Linked DNA regions of Homo sapiens: regions 2, 3, 4, 5, 6 and 7 are each linked to region 1. Evidence: promoter capture Hi-C in 16 types of primary human blood cells and fetal thymus (Javierre and others, 2016). All regions are on one chromosome and are shown on one strand. Each heading gives the region's core, a stretch centred on a gene start or on the middle of the fragment in contact. The rest is flanking DNA. Distances are from core to core; before and after follow the strand shown. Region 1 holds the start of NSUN6 (NOP2/Sun RNA methyltransferase 6). Region 2 overlaps NEBL (nebulette). Region 3 overlaps SKIDA1 (SKI/DACH domain containing 1). Region 4 overlaps MINDY3 (MINDY lysine 48 deubiquitinase 3). Region 5 holds the start of MINDY3 (MINDY lysine 48 deubiquitinase 3). Region 6 has its middle 8.9 kb from the start of PTER. Region 7 overlaps MLLT10 (MLLT10 histone lysine methyltransferase DOT1L cofactor).

Region 1 (2,700 bases), core at 1-2,500:
AATCAACATTTACTGAGGACTTTAGCAAATAAAATTAACATTTTTTGAGGACTTACATGCCAAAACAATGCTAGTTGTATTCACTTACGTTTAATATCCTAAAACAACCTGGCAAGATATTTTTAACCATTCTCAATTTTTCACAGAAGAGAAAAATCTAGGTTAAGCCACGTAATTTACAAAGCACTAGAATGCAAATCATGTGCCTGAGATTCAAAAGCTGTACCTTTGTTCATTACACCTGAACTCTTTCCCTCCAGATTTCAATAGTTACTTGATAGCTGTGTCAACTTGGATCAGTTACACAATTCCTTGAGCAGTTTTCTGCTCAAGTCTATTAAAAGAGGAAAAACCTCTAAGAAAAAAAAGATTGTGAAGATTAAAGATGCAAATCTCCTAGCACAACTGCTGGCATTTAAGAGGCACTCAACAAATTACAGAAACCTTTTCACCTGAGTGCCAGAGCCAGCGCTCTTTTAAAATTCGATTCGAGTTCTTGAAGACAGGGACCTTTTCTTGTTCATCCTTGTAACCCTTTGTGCCATGCCTGACAGGCACATGCCTTTTTTCCCTTCTTTTCCACTCCTAAATGTTAAAACATATACCTTATTCACTTCGTATCTCAGTAAGCTTTAATACCTGTAGAAACATATTGGTATTTTTACACTTGATAGACAAGTAGTAAGGAACGACGGCTGTCAAGATTTCCCTTTATACTTATTTCTATTTCTCTCGAGTGTGCGAATATTTGAGTTTTTGCAAAATATCAACTAACATCTTTACTTGACCTACCTCCTTATTCATAAAGCCTTCCTTAAGATAGTTTTCAACCTCAGGTCTCAAAGATATCTTAGGGAAAATAGACATTTTTCCTGTTGTTTAGTTCTCCACCAAGAGAAATGCTGGAAAACGGTGTTTTGTTTTTTTTTTTCTTTCCGAATTAATAGTGACGAGTGTCTTGACACCAGATGCTGAGGAAAATCTTGCCGATCACGCTGAGTTAATTTCGGAAATGCAGAGGTACACGCTTTCTCAAGCCTAGCCGATTAGAAGGGGCTGCCGGGCTTCCACCACACCTCATCGAGGCAATGTTTTCTGGTAGAGATGCTCATGGAAATCACTGAGCCAATGCCACTCACGTTGCAAAGAACCAAAAAAAGAAAAAAATGCTTAGTAACTGAATCCGTGGTGAAACGGACGCAGATCAGTAAGCCAGGCTGACAGCAGCTCGGTCCCTTTATCTTTTCTATCAATTTCCAAACACGCGCCCCCTATTTCTCGGCGGAAAGTCGCTTCCGGCTTACGTCACGTCCGGCGCCTGCGGCCCACCCCTCCCTTTCCGGTCCCCCAATCCACAGCCGCAAGTTTCCCCAACACTGCGTTACGCTACGCCACGCCCCCGGAGGTTCCTAACCCTGCGTGAGGCTCTTTCACCTGCCTCAGGTTAAGTAGGCAGACCCCGCGGGCGGGATGGTCAAAGATATTTAGTTCCCGGTACCGGAGGGCTAGGTGCCAGGGGCAATGGGGAAACAGCCAAATGGCGTGGGTTGAGTGGAAGATGTTGCTGGACTGAAAAAAGGCACAGCCCAGTTGCTGTCCTGCCAGATGTCCTCCAGTTAGAGGATGAGGCCAGAATTTGGGCGCATCAGCCACCGTTTGATTTCATGACATGATTTTACCTCTCTCAGGCATACAGATCTGACTTCAGTTGTGAAGTTCATAGGGTTCATATTTTTGAAAGTTGGGCTAATGGTCTGTTAATATCCAATGCTCAGGTAAAACTTAAAACCCACAGACAGTGTTTACAGTTAGTTATAAGGCTAACTGCTACTTGTATCATAGTTGACATATTCTTTAGAGTTTGGAAGACCCTCGCCATTATTTTTTTTTCTTTTTTTTCATCATAAGCAGACAAGGATATAGATTCAAAGAACGAGGATATCTAACCAAACTCACTGAGTCATTTTATAACTGTACAGGAAAGTCAAAATAATTCTATCACCTTGACATATGTTTTTTGCAGCACACCATGGTAATTTACACATAAGTATAGGAAAGGGTTTTTTATTGTTTTTTTCTCTTTAATTTTCACACCGAATTATACACACAGACACACACACATAGAACAGGTACTTTCCATGACACACCAACTCTTTACCAGAAAGAGTAGAAAATAATGAATGACCATTATACCACACAACAACCTGCAAGTTGTTTATCATTTTCTCTGCTCTTTTTTTTTTTTTTTTTTTGAGTCTCTGTCGCCCAGACTGGAGTGGAATGGTGGGATCTCGACTCACTGCAACCTCCACCTCCTGGTTCAAGAGATTCTCCTGCCTTGGCCTCCCGAGTAGCTAAAATTACAGGCATGTGCCACCAGGCCCAGCTAATCTTTGTAATTTTAATAGAGACGGGGTTTCACCATGCTGGCCAGGCTGGTCTCAAACTCCTGACTTCAACTGATCTGACTCTCTAGCCTCCCAAAGTGCTGGGATTACAGGCGTGAGCCACCACGCCCAGCCCATTTTCTCTGTTTTAAAGAGTAAATCAAGGTTCCTAGGGTTGAAACAACTCTCCATGTTCTCACAAATAAAAAGCCAGGATAAAGACTAGTAATTTGGCTTCTAGAGCCAATACCTTGTCCTTGACCATAGCATATTTCTTCAATAAATCCATGAGATTCTTTCATGGCTAAAACAT
Region 2 (2,700 bases), core at 167-2,666, 2.2 Mb after region 1:
CTCATATGTGGGAGCTAAAATAGTGAGACCCCAGTTCTACAAAAAATAAAGAAATCAGCTGGGCATGGTGACATGCACCTATAGCCCCAGCTACTCGGGAGGCTGAACTTATGAAGACAGAGTAGAATGATGGCTACCAGCAGCTGGGAAGAGTGGTGGGGAGAGGAGATAAAGTGGAGATGGTTAAGGAGTGCAAAAATACCGTTAGAGAGAATGAGTTTAAGATCTAGTATTCAATGCCACAATAGGGTGACCATAGTTAACAATAATTTATTGTACATTTTAAAATAACTAAGAGTGGAATTGAAATGTTCCTAACAGAAAGAAACGACAAATGCTTGAACTGATGGATACCTCAATTATCCTAATTTGATCAATACACACTGTATGCCTGTATCAAAACATTACATTTACCCCATAAATATATACAACCATTATGTATCAATAACAATTATAAATTAGAAAATTTTAAAAATAATTATTTCATGATTTCTATCATTGGAGATTGGACACTTTGTTATTTTGCCTTATTTGGAAAAGACCTTTAGTAGTAAATGGTAGCTCTTAAAGACTCAAGGCTACAGAGACTTAAGAAGCTAAAGATAGCTGCTTATTAGACAATGGGGTACCAGTAAAAATGGCAATAGAGTGGAGGGATCCAAAAACAGTATTTGAAAGGGAGCGGGAAAGAGCTGGCCATAAGGAAATTTGCATTTTGATCTTAGGGGATACTCCAGGGATTTCAGAGTGAAAGAGGAAGAAAGCTCAGTGCTAGGAATGGAACAGATGACCAAGTGGCCTGCCACAAGAGAGCTACCCTTTCTAGTGGGACAAAGCAATAGTCCCCAGAGGGAGCCTGGCCTCAGGTGCTTCCACTCAATTAGGGAGCTGCAATATATGTTCCCCCAAACCTAACCAGAATAAAATCAGGGAGGAAAGCACCCCCCAGGAAGGACATGAAAATGTTCATATAGTACTTTTTTTTTTTTTTTTTTTTTTGGACAGGGTCTTGCTCTGTCACCCAGGCTGGAGTGCAGTGGAGGGATCATGGCTCACTGCAGCCTTGACCTCCTGGGCTCAAGCAATCTTCCCATCTTAGCCTCCCAAGTAGCTGGGGCTATAGGTGCATGTCACCATGCCTAGCTAATTTCTTTATTTTTTGTGGAGCTAGGGTCCCACTACGCTGCCCACGCTGGTCTCAAACTCCTGGCCTCAAGCCATCCTCCTGCCTTGGCCTCCCAAAATGCTGGAATTACAGACAGGAGCTACTGCACCTAGCCCACAGAGTACATCGTGATGGAAGGAAACAAGTTATAAATTTTGGCTCCTCTAATGTTTTTTTAAAAAAGCCTTTTTTTGGCTAGGCGCGGTGGCTCACACCTGTAATCCCAGCACTCTGGGAGGCAGAGACAGGCGGATCATGAGGTCAAGAGATCTAGACCATCCCTGGCCAACATGGTCAAACTCTATCTCTACTACAAATACGAAATTAGCTGGGAGTGGTGGGGTGCACCTAGTAGTAGTAGTCCCAGCTACTCAGGAGGCTGAGGCAGGAGAATCGCTTGAACCTGGGAGCGGAGGTTGCAGTGAGCTGAGATCGTGCCACTGCACTCCATCCTGGAGACAGAGCGAGAGTCCGTCTTAAAAAAAAAAAAAAAGTGTTTTTTTTTTAACCAGTTAAAATCTGGAAAGAAAGATAATAATACAGACTTTATAATTTGATTAGAAGTTATCTTGTAATATGTATTTATAAAATAATCATGAATGTAACAAGCTACAACATAGTCCATTACTGAGTTAAAATCCACAACAAATACATATAAATATATGTAAAATAATGAATATATACTGAAAAATTCAGTAAATATTGTTCCCAACACAATTATCGATTTTAGTTACAAAGAATTTCAGAAACTCCTATTTAAGAAAACAAAACAAAACAAAAAAAAAACGAAGGAAAACTTAATTGAATTAAGATCTGCAAAAGAACTTCGAATGCGTGTCTTTCCTTATATAACAGTCTCTGCTACCTCCTAGTGGGAGATACACGGAGTAACACAAAATATATATTTCTTAATTTATGTAAAGTTGTGAAAGAAACTCAACACTACCAGAGGTCCATTTTCCAGGGGAAAATGTTTTCCAAAACTTTAATTAGAATGATTTTACACAGTAATTAAGGCACTCATATCACTCTTTAGAGTTTGGGTTAAAATAAAAGTAACTCTGATGTTGCTAAAGACATCTAGGGGTCTTTAAAACAATAGCTACTGTGACAAATGGATAATTTTGGCAGAATATCTCTTATTGAGCAATCTTATTCAATCTTTTAATTTATAAATCAACACAACTCCAATTTTTTACATTAAAATGTTAAAGTAGGCTATTCTTTGTTTCTTCACAAATGCTAGATAAAGGAGGCCATTCTAATATACAATAAAGTTGAGCAAATGTATACAGCTTTATACAATGTACACAACTTTGTAAGGAGACACTTCAAAAGGAACACATTTTTAAGTCTTTCTCTCCCAGGAAGTAGTCAATCACAATTTGTCTATGGGGAAAAAGAAATCTGTCCTCTAGGCAAAAGCACCACCTAAATGAAGATCTAAACTTTATATATGATACATGAAATAAGTAACGTATGACTTTGCTGTGTTTTCTCTGTTGAAGAGATGATAGAAACAATTTATATTAGAC
Region 3 (2,700 bases), core at 158-2,657, 2.9 Mb after region 1:
AAGCTGCTTGCAAAAGGAAAATCCTCTTTAGCAAATAGAGATTGAAATATATTCCTAATGTCCACTTACTTCTGCATTTATTGTAAAAAATCAGCACTTTCAGTTTTTAAAGTGAAGGGCCATGAAAATATGAACATATTTGTCTTTACTTATCCCATATGAATGTGCTAGATTTACCTTTAGATGCTCTATTTTGATTTATTTTCACTGTATTTTATGTTTCAATACCATTGCAATTCAGTCTGACCTCTTTCCTCTGGAGCGAAGTAATGCACACGGCATTTACAGTCTTTTAAATGGTTAGCTGGGAAATGCAATAGCAATTTGCAGGAGTAGTTTACTAATGGGGAAAGTTCTTTTGAAAACCTGAAGGAAAACCTAAGAGTACTTTTGCATTTCTACACTACAACTGTCATATAATTAAAGTATTGAAGAGCATTAAAATAATCCTTTTCCTTCCAAGCTTTCACCCATACATACATAATTTAAATGAGGATCACAGCCACCCCCCCCCCCCCCCCCCCCCCCCCGCCACCAGCTCTTCACCATATACGTTTGTTTTAGTGATTGCTGGGCACATTTTGTTCAAAGTGAATTCAGACAGAAAAGAGTAAGGAACATCACAAAGGCCTCAACAATGTAAGTATGCTGGTTAAAAGAATAAAAGCCCCTTGTGCTATTAACTAAAAGTAACTATAATATTCACAAGATAAAAGTTTAAAATAATAATAAAGTCTCATATGGCTGAATTAGTTGAGGATATAAGACAATAAAATCTCAACAGTTCTTTAGCTAAGTTTATCTAATATCACATCTTCTCTGCTTTTTGGGATGGGAAAATGGGAATGAAGGAGTAGAAAATGGCTAAATTGAGAAACAAATGATAACTTAGTATATTTCCTTTAATTTTTTTTCTTTCTGGTTCATTTGAACAAATCAGGGTAAGTCTCCAAAAGGGCCCATCCCTCTGTTCTTAGGCATTTAAAAACCCTGTCTTTAACAGAAGTTTGGGACACAGGGTATATGCCATGTTGTCTACTGACCCATAATCAAAATGCAGTGACCTTCTACCCTTTTTTTGCCCCCTGACCCATCTTGAATTCAATGCAGCCTTTATAAATTTGCAAATCCTTGGAGGTAAAGGGGTTTTTGTGAGGCTTTGTTCTGAAAAAGCCCTAAGAGTGTGCTTTCTAAATTAGACAAAGGTAAAGCAACAAATCCTAGTGGATGAGATTTTACACAGGTGAGCAATAGGCACCTCCAGATAACATATATTGCAAGCTAAAAACCAGTTATAAACATAGGAGACAAGGAGGTTATAGATTGCATCAAATTAGAGTGAGGTACAAATCACTTTCATGATGTAAGAAACGGCTAGGCCACAATCTTCCTGCTCTTCTCATCTCAAGGGCTGTGGGGGACCCTAGTGACCAAGGAAGGAATGGGGTGGGGGGAAGGGGGCAGGGAGGAAAAGAAAGGAGTGAGACTTGATCTGAATCTGTGGGCACATTCCCTTATCTTTCCTGCTATCAGCCAGTTTAAAGGACACCATAATTATGATGGTGATAAAACAATGCCTGCTTATGTGTGCTGAATAAATAAAGAATGTTTACAGCTCAAGAATCTTTTAATTCCAATTAAATGCTATCAAAGAAAAGCCACTTTTCCTACTGCAACCGCCTTTCCCCCCAATTATCTTGTTTTGTTGTAATATTTTCCTATGAGACACATGGGCCTTTCACAATTGATCCTGAATGCAAAAGAAAAAAAATCAGAGAAAGTAGAGTTTGACCTTCAGATATTAAATAATACACAAATATCCAGAACCACAATTTGTTAGGGTTGCCCAAGTTTTTGTTTATTTTACACAAGGGCCAAACATATAGAGACTGAAGTGGTGACACCAAGTGTTGAGGCCTACCTATGGGCTGCTCAGCCATACTGAAATCCTGAGCCACCACGAGGGGAGAGAGGAGAGACAAGACATGAGGAGCCTGATGGTCTCTGGAAAGGGAATCCTCTTCTGGTTCTGTTCCCCTGGCTTCAGCCCAAATCCTTCTGGGAGCACTGGAGCCAATCACTGTCTTTCACTGCTGCAGCTACTGGGAACCTACAAAAAAGCGGGAGATAAAAAAAAAAAAAAAAAAATCACAAGTTCGAATTTATGGATACACAAGTATCATTTCATATTCATGACATCAGCAAATCACATCATAATCAGATTTGAGCAAGGTTTGGACACTAAGACCCAAAAGACTGGACACTCAACACTGACAGTATCACATATTAACCAGAAAATTCGCTTTTTTGTTATGGAATCATAGGGTGAAAATTAAGTCTTTTAACTTTGAAAAGCTTACTTTTCACTTCTGAGGCCAATTTTTACACTAATAAATTTCAAGTAAACGTCTCTTTTAAAGTTGTTCCACAACATTTTAATTCAAACTTCTATTTCCTTTCTCAGTTGGGGTAGTGTTTTGTTTGTGTTTTAAAAAAACACATGGCACAACAAACGTTATGGAAAACGCACTCATTCCGTTAAATGCCGATACAAACCTGCCTTTTACTACATCTGTCTAAGCAGCGCATTGCTAAGTATAAACTTAAAAAAATTTTTTTTTCTCAAAGACATATCTATTATTTCTTGGCAAATACTATTTGGTGATGTGGTGCAAAAACACAATGGTAAAAAATTTCGGG
Region 4 (2,839 bases), core at 182-2,681, 2.8 Mb before region 1:
AACATTGATTATTTGCTTTGGGATCATCCGTAAGAGTGTAAAGGGCATGAGATTAAAAGGTTTTAGAATCTTCAGGTTAAAGCAAAACAAGGGAGAGGAGAAGAACAGCCCAAATAGGTATAAATGGATACTTCATATCTTCGCAAACTTTTCTCTCCCTTTCCTTCTTAAATGTAAGCAACACTAAATGTTTTCATGTAAAAAAGAATACATACATTGGGAAACAGTTTCACAATTTAATTTCTAAAATCAGTTACCACCACCTAGTGTTACAATTAGATACTACATCATCTATTTCCCTGGACTTTTAAACAAATGTCTAATAATAATATCATGTTACTAAATACAGCAAACTAGTTGTTCATAATTCTTGGGTAATGAACTATTTAGATTTGATCAGTAAACACATGCTTAGACATCTAGTCTGGATGGTAATTATTTTAAAAATGTATTATGCCTGTTTTCTTAAACAGAATATATACTTAACATTTTTACCTTCTTATGATAGTTTCAAGAGCATCACACTAGGAAAATTTACTTTTATGCCAAGTTGTAATACAGTGAGGATTTAATATTCTCACATGTTACGATTTATAGAATTTATTTGTAGGAGACTTTCTCAATAAGCCTTGAAAGTGTCTATTTTCAAGTATTCCTAATCTGAAAATCTGAAATCCGAAATGTTCCAAGATCTGAAGCATTCTGAGAGCCAACATGACTCTCAAAGGAAATGTTCATTACAGCATTTTGGATTTCAGATTTTCAGATTAGGGATGCTAAACTGGTGAGGAAAAATGCAAATATTTCCAAATCTGAAAAAAATCGAAATCTTAAATGCTTCTGGTCCCAAGCATGTACTCTACATTTGCAAAAAAATTCAAATTACTTTGTGATTATATTCTTGTTTTCTTTGCCAGAATTAATTTACTATCTTTTATTATCAGAGACGGTGTCTTGCCTTCTTGCCCAGGTTGGTTTCAAACTCCTGGCCTTAAGTGATCCTCCCGCTTTGGCCTCCCAAACTGCTGAGATTAAAAGGCACAAGCCAATACACCCAGCCTAACTGATTATCTTATATAAAAGAGAATGAAACAAACCATCAAAACTCATTCAGTTTCTGACTGCATTTTTAGGAGTTCCACATATTAAGTGGAATATAACCAGACAAGCACCAGAGAAACATGACTATTTTTTGGCCTAACTATAATATCCGTTTCTGTTTATTTTATAATTGACAAATTAAAGTTGTATATATTTACCGTGTACAACATGTTTTGAAATATGTATACACTGTAGAATGGCTAAACTGAGCTAATTAACATATGCATTATTCTGTGTATGAGTCCATCATCTTTCAATTAGCTATGCATTTGACTGGCTGTAATACTGATTTCTTTTTATAAAAACAAAACAAAAACCCACAAAAAACCAAGAAACTTCTGGGTTTCTGAATTACAAGAGTTGACTCTTCTATCCCTATCCCATAAAGAAAATTATAAAATAAAAATAATCATCAAATAAGCATACAAAAATAAATAAACAATATGGACAAAAATAATGTACAAATACTGAAGAATTCCTTTAAGATAAAAAAGAGACCATGACAAAATTAATCTACAGAAAATCAAAATCAAAGAAAACTTTAGCTCAACATACATGGAATAGTACGAAATGAAGATGGATGGCAGGTAGAGAGGAGAAAGACCACAAAAGGATCTGAGAACCTTAGAAGGAGTTTGGATTTTATTTTAAGTGCGTAGGGAAGCCAGCCATCGAATGGTTTTAAGGGAGAGAGAAACATGATCTCACTGAGTTTGAAAAATATCACACTAGCCCCTGTGAAAGAGTGGGCAAGAATGCATTTAATTTGATTAGTTCTACTGCAGCTTATTTCTGTTCTATTGGAGAAGCAAAAGATGGTTTCAAAAACTGGGGTAGAATCAAGTATATGGATTCAGGACCATATAATCTATATAAAACACTGAATATTTTTCACTAAAGAATGTACAAAACAATCTAGTTGGGAAGATAATATGTAAAGATATAATTTCCTCAAAATAACCTACAAATATAATGTAACCAATCCAAATCTTCAAAGATTTCTTAAAACTGGAACTTGAAGAGCTGGGAGGAAAGTTCAACTGGAATAGATAATGTAGAAAAGACTATGACAATTTTGTAAAAGTATAACATCAGGAAACATGCTAATGAATATCAAAGTATATTATAAAACTATGTAATTGTGAAGTTTTGCATAAGAAGTCACAAAAAGATCAGTGGAATAGAATAAAAACATGTAAATATGGAAAAATGTGTTCAACAAAAAACGTATTTCCTATCTGTGGAGAACTGACTGGAATTAGGACATTAGATAATTCTTTGAGAAAAAGTCAAAAGGCAGATCCCAAACTCATACCATTCATAAATACAAAATCCAGATAGACTAAAGAGCCAAACATTAAAAAACAAAAAGCCCACAAAAGCATTTTTGGAAAATACTAGAGAATATTATCTTGGGGTGGAGCCGGGCATGATGGTGCACGTCTGTAGTCTCAGCTACTTGAGAGACTGAGGCAAGAGGACCACTGGAGCCCATTTAGAGGCTGCAGTGAGCTATGACTGCACTACTGCACTATGGCCTGGGTGACAGAGCGAGACCCCGTCTCTAAAAAATGAAAATAAAAAATCTGGGGGTGGGAGACACATAAAATTGATATAACAGGAGTAAAAAAAAAAAAAAAAAAAAAAGCCCAAATAGAAGCCATCTAAAAAAAAGACCAAATGATTTAACCTCATAAATATGAAAGCCAGCCAGGCGCGGTAGCTCACGCCTGTAATC
Region 5 (2,995 bases), core at 114-2,613, 2.8 Mb before region 1:
TCGTAATTGTAATTTTACCAGCTCTTAAAACAAACATGTGGGAGGGAGGGAGAGATTACGTAAATCCTGAATTTTTGTTACAAAATACACGTTTTGAAATAGGGGTTTATATTTACTATGCCAAAATTCCGCCCAATCTATTTCGGGAACAGGTGTTCCCTAAATAGATGTTTTAATAATAATAGTGTTTTACATACATAAATTATTGATCCTTCTGACTCAAGGTTATGTTTTAACCTCATCATCATCTTTCCTAAGTCACCTTTAGGAATGTGTCAGTTGTTTGCCTATCCAAACTTAAGAATTAGGGATAGTTACTAGTATAAAGCGCCCAGCCTGTTACAGTGCAAGAATTCAATAAATGCTTATTTTATTTCATTATTATTTGTACTAAGACTCTTCATGTAAGTAAAAGTCCTGTCTGGGTTACAAGCATACCGGCCGAGGAAGTACTATGATCCATATTCCTTTTTTAACCGTGACAGATAATAAACCATATAAAAAACGGGGATACTTTGGGCCAAGAGTACACTTTTTAGCAAATAACAGTGTTTATACACAGACTACCACGCCTAACCACATAATGACAATACAAACAAAAAACTGCTTTTTGGAATTAGCCACTTGGACTTTCCCTTGGACGTCCCTCCTTCTCACCAAAAATAGACCAACCACCACCAATAGACAGCTCTGTTAGGGGGTAAAGATGCGGAAGGCCACAGCACCCCTTGAGAAAGTGACACCGGGGCACGGGGCGCATCTTCCGTGTCACGCCCTGCAACCCAGCAAGGGGCCACCCTCTCCTCCTCCCCAGCCGAAGGGCAGCCCGGAGGATGGAAAGAGCGCTGCGGGTATTTAGTGGCAGCTGTAACCATTCTCCTACTCAAACTCTCCCCACCAAGGCAAGGCAGGGCGTGTCTAGAAAGTCCAGCTTCAGCGCTGAGCACGGCGACTGGGGCAGAGAGCGGGGCACGCGAGGGGCTGGAGCGAGAGGCGTCACAGGCGGACTCTCGCAGGGCAAAAGAAGCAGCGGCTGCAAGTGTGAGAGCCCCGCCAGGGTACCTTGCGTCCAGCGGCAGAAAATGGTGTCCGAGAGACCGGGGCTGCTCTTGGTGCCCCACACCAGCTCCATCAGCTCTTTAGTCAGTTCGGACATGATGAGGAACCGGCGGGCGGATCTTCGCTTTGCGGACTCCTGCCCCGGAACATGGGGAAGGGGCAACTCCGGAAACAGCAGCTGCGGGACGGCGGCGGCAAACGAATTGGAAGGTGAGGCAGGAAAGAAGAAGGGGCTGAGAGCCACTTGCAGAGACCAAGCCTGTCAAGCCAGGTTGGGGCAGCAGCGAGTTTTCCGTACCGGAAGTGCTGGTGCCACTTCCGACTCCTCTTTAACTCCCGCCCCTTAAGGCTGAGGGCCCGGAAGTCCCCTCCCCGGAAGTGAAATTGGAGGCGGAAACAGGCACGGAAAGCGGTGGAAGTAGCTTCTGACCTTTCTGAACTGTCTGGGACCCTTTGGTGGGGTGGTAGTTTTTGTATTGGGAAGGGGCGTCGGCGTGTTTCTAAACTCCAGGAATACCTTCTTCCTCTACGCACTGCTCTGGGCTAAGCTGGAGGCTCTGAGGCCCAGGCACTAGGAATTAGAACATATGCCCATTGCTTGTATTTTTCAATATTAATTTTGCAAAACTAGAACTATAAGGCAATAGTTGAGTCACAGTGCGGTAACATCCGTGCCTTTGTAGGGCGCTTCTCATAAGCTGGAGGCTGTCCGCCTCTGTACTTCAATAAATCAAAGTCAGACCAACTATTACCTAAAAACATGGCAAAGAATGTGGCATAATGTGCATTAGAAATGCTTCCACCAGCTGCAACGCAGAATTACAAGGTATTTGTAGGGAAACAAATTCAGAGCAACCTGTTTGTAAATGTTACAGCATTTTCATCTCCAGTTTTTGACACTGCAGAGTGTGTGGGCAACACCTGGACTAAAGTTTAGGTTTTACTCATTAACTAGCAGTTAAATTGAGTTCATGTGAAAACTTATGTTTGTGCTGCTTAAAAAAAGAGGGCTTGTATTGCCCGAGCTTTGAATTTAAAACGAAAGGGCAAAATCTGATTTAAAAAAAAATACATGCTTTTATTTTGGTTCTGTAAGGTTTCTGTACTCCTTGGAAACCATATTACTTTGGGATGCAGTAATGCAATAGTTAAGAGGCCAAGCTGTGGGTCATACTGGCCCATATTCCTACCTTTTGCACTTACTAGCAAGTTACCTACTATCTACCTAGGCTTTTTTCTTTCTAAAAGGGAGATTGCATACATTTCATATATTGTAAGGAATAAATGGAAAAAGTAACACATACAAAGGATTTGGTGTACTTCCTAGCACATGGAAGGCATTTATGCAACAGTGGGTATTTTTTTTACCTCAAGAAGCCATTTTGTGGGAATTTGATGCAACAGTAGTTCTGACTTTTTTACCCATAAATTCTAGCCAGTTGTATTTTAGTATAATACGTTATGTTCTCTAATTTCAAAAACATGCAGTTTCATTGTAGAATACCCTTGCATTTGGCTAATTAAAATTAACCCTTAATTTAAAATCTTTTAGATTGCAAATAAGGTTTTGTTAATTTATGCTTTATTACTAGCTATTTTTTCCTATTTATACGTTATTTCTAATTTTATTTTAATTAATTTAATTTTATTTCTTCAGTACCCTTTACTGTAATTACAGGGACTTGCCCAAAGTGCCTGTAGTAGAGCCATAGCATTCCTTTTGATCTTTATTCCCTTTAGAATATCCCTTGCCTTGTTTTTGCAAATCAAATCTTACCTATCCTTCATGTCAGAGTGTGCATGCCAAACTTTCTCCAGTCATTACAATTGAAAGTAATAATTATAATTTCTGAGGCTTCATAGTACCTTATGTGTAACTTGCTTATGACAATTCCTATCATCATTGTATTTGCAAAGAGTTATTTGCTTTTCTCTT
Region 6 (2,703 bases), core at 17-2,516, 2.2 Mb before region 1:
ATTGCACTTAGACTCTCCATTCAGGGCACTGATAACTTGGTTTTCCTGCCCGCAGTCATGGTGTTGGATCCTTCCTCCTGACCTTTGGATCCTGGGCTTCTGGCAGATGCTCCGTGCATGGTGATTGCTGAGGCTACCACACCCTGAGTCCCACCTACCCTTCTGTCTAAAAGAACTATTTTTTTCTTTCTAAGATGGAGTCTCCTCTGTCACCCAGGCTTGAGTGCAGTGGCATGATCTTGGCTCACCACAACCTCCACCTCCCGGGTTCAAGCGATTCTCCTGCTTCAGCCTCCCAAGTAGCTGGGACTGCAGGTGCGGCACCATCACGCCTGGCTAATTTTTGTATTTTTAGTAGAGACAAGGTTTCACTATGTTGGCCAGGCTGGTGTCGAACTCCTGACCACAGGTGATCTGCCCATCTTGGCCTCCCAAAGTGCTGGGATTACAGGTGTGAGCCACCATCCCCAGCTTTTTTTTTTTGTTTTTAATGGAGCCACGCTCTGTTGCCCAGGCTAGAGTTCAGTGGTGCGATCTCAGCTCACTGCAACATCTGTCTCCTGGGTTCAAGGAATTCTTCTGCCTCAGCCTCCCGAGTACCTGGCATTACAGCTGCGTGCCACCACACCTGGCCAATTTTTGTATTTTTAGTAGAGATGGGATTTTGCCATGTTGGCCAGGCTGGTCTCGAACTCCTGACCTCAGTTAAAAGCAGATTATTTAGTCAATTCTGTTTGCTATTTCTGACTTCTCTGTACTTAAATCCTAATTACCCTCTCTTGTCTGGCAAACTCCACAGTGTTTTTCTAAAGACCCCAAATAAGACACTTTCATATTGTGTGTCATTTAATTCCCACACCAGTCCTACGAAGGTACAGGGTTTCTGCCATCCTCAACACTTAAACTCTGGCTTCCAGGCAGCTTCTTCAATTCTCATCGTCTCCCAGTGGGGTGGGATATGCACCTAATCTTCTTAGTCACAGGGCCATGCCTAGCTGCAAGAGAGGCTGGGCAATGTCATCTTTAACTGGGAGGCCATGAACCTCACTAAATTAGTTGTGTGACAGAAAAGGGAAAAGGATCTTTGAGACAACCTGGAGTTGGCCAGGGCAATGTAATAATATCCCCACTTTATATGAAGACACCATAGCTCGGAGATATTAAGAGTTCTCATAGCAAGAAAAGAGAGGAGCCAGAAATTGAAGTCAGGTCTATCTGACTGCAGAGCTACTTTCCAATGGACTGGTCTACACCGCCTGGTCCCCCGTGTTCACAGAGAATCCACATGATGCAGCACACCCTGGCAGGAGATTCATTCCAAAGACAAGACTCTGATAGTTCCCCTTTATTCTAGCTAGGAGATTGAATCAAACTCTTTGGTTATTTTAGCTGCAACATAATTTTTATATATTGTATCTATGATTTTTATTTTTATATATAATTTTATATATCCTAGATGTTTTTATATATCCTAGATATTTTTATATATCCTAGATATTTTTATATATCCTGGTAATATTTACTAAGTGACACAATTTTGCAAACTACACATGCAGAGGAGTTCTTTAGTAACTAAAGCTGCCAAGGCCTGTGTTCCTTACATAGTGCAATCAAAAACAGGACTTTTTTTTATTTTTTAAGAGACAGGGTCTCTGCTCTGTTGCTCAGGCTGGGGTGCAGTGGCACAATCACGGGTCACTGCAGCCTTGACCTTTCAGGTTCAAGAGATTCTCCCACCTAAGCCTCCCGAGTAGCTGGGATCACAGGTGCGTGCCACCATGCCTGCCTAATGTCTAGTTTTTCCATTTTGTAGAGACAGGCCCTTCCTATGTTGCCCAGGCTGCTCTTGAACTCCTGGACTCAAGTGATCCTCCTGCCTTAGCCTCCCAAAGCACTGGAATTACAGACATGAGCAACTGCACCCGGCCTAAAAACAGTATTAAACAAAGTTTCTGATTAGAAGTTTTAACTAACTCCATGGCAGAAAAATTTCTTTAGAAGACCTTCAAATGAAAACAAATTATTCATATTACTTAAAGATAAAAAGTCAAGGAATTTGATTTATAAATTCAAGTTATCCTTGCAATGTTTGGTTCCAGACCACATTGTTTTTCAACAATGGGAACACCACCATTTGGCGTTCTTCACAGACACACATGCTCGAGCTTCCAGTTAATAAATAGCTTCCCGGCCATCATTTTGAGAGTTTCATTCCTTCTGTTTAATTAATCCAGCTCTCAACATTGTATTTATTAGAGACCAATAATCACATTATTGTGTGCTAATAGATGCCTCTAGTATTTAAATAATTCTCCCAAGGATTTGGAAGTCATCCTGGGACCTATTTAATATTAGTTATTAATGGCTTGTTAAAGAAAGGTGGCTTTCAATTTGCATACAGGTTCTTCAAATTCTCTTACTAGGACAAATACCATATTAATTAGGGTAGGCTATCTGCTGTAACAAATAATCCCCAAATCTCAGTGACTTACCACAATAAAACTACATTTTTCTTTCTTTCTCTCTCTCTCTCTCTTTCTTTTTTTTTTTTTTTTTTGAGACAGAGTCTTTCTCTGTTGCCCAGACTGGAGTGCAGTGGTGAGGTCTTGGCTCACTGCAGCCTCTGCCTCCTGGGTTCAAGCGATTCTCTTGCCTCAGCCTCCTGAGAAGCTGGGATTACAGGTGTGCACCGCCATGCCTGGC
Region 7 (2,796 bases), core at 100-2,599, 2.9 Mb after region 1:
GTTTGAGACTTGGTCTGCTTTTTCATTCTGAGGACTCAGTGTCCTTCCATTTTTTATTTTCTACTCTGTCTCTTCAAATACTGTAACCTTCTCATTAACTTTTCTTTTCCTAGAACTGTTAGGTATATGTTTGGGATTTTCATTCTGTTTTTCATGTCTTTTAATTTGTCTTTCATATTTTCTATCTTATCTTTTTTTTTTTTTTTGAGACGGAGCCTCTGTTGCCCAGGCTGGAGTGCAGTGTTGCGATCTCGGCTCACTGCAAGCTCCGCCTCCCGGGTTCACGCCATTCTCCTGCCTCAGCCTCCTAAGTAGCTGGGAATACAGGTGCCCGCCGCTACGCCCGGCTAATTTTGTGTATTTTTAGCAGAGACGGGGTTTTTCCATGTGAGCCGAGATGGTCTTGATCTCCTGACTTCATGATCCACTCACCTTTGCCTCCCAAAATGCTGGGATCACAGGTGTGAGCCACTGTGCCCGGCCTTTCTGTCTTATCTTTGCATTACTGATAATATCTTTAACTCTGTCTTCAGATTTATGCTTATTTTTAATTCAGTGAATTAATTTTTTTCTGAGTAAATTTCTAGAATTTTTGTGTGATTTTATTTTTCAATTTGTCTCTTTTTTCAGGGTATCTTGCTTTATTGTTTGAAGAATTATATTCGTTTTTTTATTTGAACATTTAAAACATACTTATTGTAAAGATTCTCAGATTTTGGAATTCTTTGTTAACTCTGGTGATAGATGTCTTTATATATTGTGTAATTTTTGACTGCAGGCTAATCTTCAGGTGGAGTTGTCTTTCCTGGGATTCCTGTTCCTCTACCATGAGTTGTGAAGATGTCACTGTGGGGTTTTTGCCTTTGCTCTCTGTCTTTTAAGAATTGTGTTTGGCCGACCAGATTATAATGGTTTCTACAAGTCAGGAGCTTATTCCTTTTTTTTTTTTTTTTTTTAGACTTGAGTCTTGCTCTGTCACCCTGGCTGGAGTGCAGTGGCGCAGTCTCGGCTCACTGCAACCTGCACCTCCCGGATTCAAGCAGTTCTCCTGCCTCAGCCTCCCCAGTAGCTGGGATTATAGGCATGTGCCACCACTCCTGGCGAATTTTTTGTATTTTTAGTAGAGATGGGGTTTCACTGTGTTTCGATCTCCTGACCTCGTCATCCGCCCGCCTTGGCCTCCCAAAGTGCTAGGATTACAGGCGTGAGCCACTGCACCCGTCCAGTTATTCTTTTACTTAAAAGCAAAAGGCATTTTGAAGCTTCGATGACAGCTCTCTTAAGTCACTAGGGAGTATGCTTTTTCTATCTTCCTTCTGTATCAGCCTTAGCACATAGTTTTCATGTTCAGGGTTATCCCATAGTCAAAGCATGGCAGCTGGAACTGCAGTCATTGTGACTACAAAAGAAGTCCCAGGCAGAAAGAAGGGGAGAGGGTAAGCTTCAAGTGTGGTCCTCTAACTGAGTTGTACTCTTTTTTTTTTTTTTTTTTTTGAGAGAGTGTCTTGCTCTGTTGCCCAGGCTGGAATGCAGTGGCCGCGATCCTCTACTTCCCGGGTTCTCCTGCCTTAGCTTCCCGAGTAGCTGGGATTACAGGTGTGTGCCACTATGCCTGGCTAATTTTTGTATTTTTTGTAGAAATGGGGTTTCGCCATGTCGGCCAGGCTGGTCTCAAACTCCTGACCTCAGGTGATCTGCCCGCCTTGGCCTCCCAAAGTGCTGGGATTACAGGCGTGAGCCATCGCGCCTAGCTCTGAGTTGTACTCTTAAACTAATTGTCCTTGAGGCTCCACTCAACAACTTAGGCTTAATTTTACTGGCTCTTAATTGTTACTGAGCCTGCAAAATGTGGTCATAAAGTTGGGCCCATTGATAAACTGGTTAAAGTGAGAGTTCTGTTAGTAGGGAAGAAGGAGAAAATAGACTTGGATTGGTAGCTGCAGAGTCTGTTACAGTTTGCCTAATGGGGTTCATTGCTCCAGGCCAGTCTCTAAGTTTGTTTCTTGGCTTGGATTTCTACATCCTTTAGATAATAGATTTTGGGCCCCATACCTTCCCTCAGTATCCCCTTGGATTTCTAGAGTGAGTCATCTACTCACATCTGGAGCAAGCATCTAATTTCTGTGCAGCTTCCCTAGTCTTAGTAGTCCAGCACATGGTTTTCTAGAGTCTCTTCCTGTTATGACATGGATCCTTATCAGCTCTTGTCCTTATATAGGGAACCCAGTTAGAGCTTTTCTCCATATCTTTAGTCTATGTTGCTGTCATAGTCAGTCCTACCCTCTAAGGTATTGTTTCTGATAGCTTCGTTAACTGCCCCAGCTTCAATTTAATACTGATTCCTTTAGCTTTTTGTTTGTTTTTGAGACAGGGTCTTGCCCTGTTACCCAGGCTAGAGTGCAGTGATGCAATCTCAGCTCACTTCAACCTCCGCCTCCTGGGTTGGAGCGATTCACCTTCCTTAGCCTTATGAGTAGCTGGGACTACGGATGGGTGCCACCAAGCCCAGCTAATTTTTGTATTTTTAGTAGAGACGGGGGTTTCACATGTTGCCCAGGCTGGTCTCAAACTTCTGACTTCAAGTGATTTGCCTGACTCAGCCTACCAAAGTGCTGGGATTACAGACGTGAGCTATGGCGTCCGGCCTTATTTAGCTTTAAAGTTCTTTTTTATTTCTGCCACCTGGAGAGTTACCTTTATTCACATAATTAAAAATTGTTTTCAGATTTCTTTTATCTTTAATTTTTTTTTTTTTTTTGAAATGGAGTCTTGCTCTGTCACCCAGTGCAGTGGTAC

Evidence for each region. The method cuts DNA at HindIII sites, captures the fragments that hold promoters and counts their contacts. A CHiCAGO score of 5 or more calls a contact.
Region 2: a contact is called between a fragment that was not itself captured here and the fragment with the promoter of NSUN6 in region 1, in 1 of 17 cell types (M2 macrophages). The highest score is 5.8, in M2 macrophages.
Region 3: a contact is called between a fragment that was not itself captured here and the fragment with the promoter of NSUN6 in region 1, in 1 of 17 cell types (activated CD4 T cells). The highest score is 6.1, in activated CD4 T cells.
Region 4: a contact is called between a fragment that was not itself captured here and the fragment with the promoter of NSUN6 in region 1, in 3 of 17 cell types (total CD4 T cells, activated CD4 T cells and naive CD4 T cells). The highest score is 6.6, in total CD4 T cells.
Region 5: the fragment with the promoter of MINDY3 here is called in contact with the fragment with the promoter of NSUN6 in region 1 in 9 of 17 cell types (naive CD8 T cells, total B cells, non-activated CD4 T cells and 6 more); the score reaches 20.4 in naive CD8 T cells.
Region 6: a contact is called between a fragment that was not itself captured here and the fragment with the promoter of NSUN6 in region 1, in 2 of 17 cell types (non-activated CD4 T cells and total CD4 T cells). The highest score is 7.7, in non-activated CD4 T cells.
Region 7: a contact is called between a fragment that was not itself captured here and the fragment with the promoter of NSUN6 in region 1, in 2 of 17 cell types (non-activated CD4 T cells and total CD8 T cells). The highest score is 5.4, in non-activated CD4 T cells.

Annotation. Positions count from the first base shown.
Region 1 is chr10:18,650,337-18,653,036 of GRCh38, forward strand. It overlaps NSUN6 (NOP2/Sun RNA methyltransferase 6), which reads right to left and starts at 1,251. Exons shown (of 11, transcript NM_182543.5): 1 at 793-1,251. The coding sequence starts at 867. RefSeq lists an enhancer at 1,391-1,490. The HindIII fragment of the contact is 3,002 bases long and covers 629-2,700 here.
Region 2 is chr10:20,853,585-20,856,284 of GRCh38, forward strand. All of the region lies in intron 9 of NEBL (nebulette), which reads right to left. All of the region lies in intron 2 of LOC102725112 (a long non-coding RNA gene), which reads left to right. Among named protein-coding and RNA genes, the nearest start is that of NEBL, 42 kb to the right of the region's middle. The HindIII fragment of the contact is 9,153 bases long and covers 1-2,700 here.
Region 3 is chr10:21,521,762-21,524,461 of GRCh38, forward strand. It overlaps SKIDA1 (SKI/DACH domain containing 1), which reads right to left. Exons shown (of 4, transcript NM_207371.4): 2 at 1,922-2,110. Among named protein-coding and RNA genes, the nearest start is that of SKIDA1, 2.6 kb to the right of the region's middle. The HindIII fragment of the contact is 1,892 bases long and covers 462-2,353 here.
Region 4 is chr10:15,824,451-15,827,289 of GRCh38, forward strand. All of the region lies in intron 8 of MINDY3 (MINDY lysine 48 deubiquitinase 3), which reads right to left. All of the region lies in intron 2 of LOC124902383 (a long non-coding RNA gene), which reads left to right. Among named protein-coding and RNA genes, the nearest start is that of MINDY3, 35 kb to the right of the region's middle. The HindIII fragment of the contact is 8,423 bases long and covers 1-2,839 here.
Region 5 is chr10:15,859,144-15,862,138 of GRCh38, forward strand. It overlaps MINDY3 (MINDY lysine 48 deubiquitinase 3), which reads right to left and starts at 1,364. Exons shown (of 15, transcript NM_024948.4): 1 at 1,063-1,364. The coding sequence starts at 1,156. RefSeq lists an enhancer at 1,106-1,155. The HindIII fragment of the contact is 10,196 bases long and covers 1-2,995 here.
Region 6 is chr10:16,426,794-16,429,496 of GRCh38, forward strand. No RefSeq gene overlaps it. Among named protein-coding and RNA genes, the nearest start is that of PTER, 8.9 kb to the right of the region's middle. The HindIII fragment of the contact is 9,091 bases long and covers 1-2,703 here.
Region 7 is chr10:21,548,186-21,550,981 of GRCh38, forward strand. The region is part of intron 3 of MLLT10 (MLLT10 histone lysine methyltransferase DOT1L cofactor); the gene reads left to right. Among named protein-coding and RNA genes, the nearest start is that of MLLT10, 15 kb to the left of the region's middle. The HindIII fragment of the contact is 179 bases long and covers 1,261-1,439 here.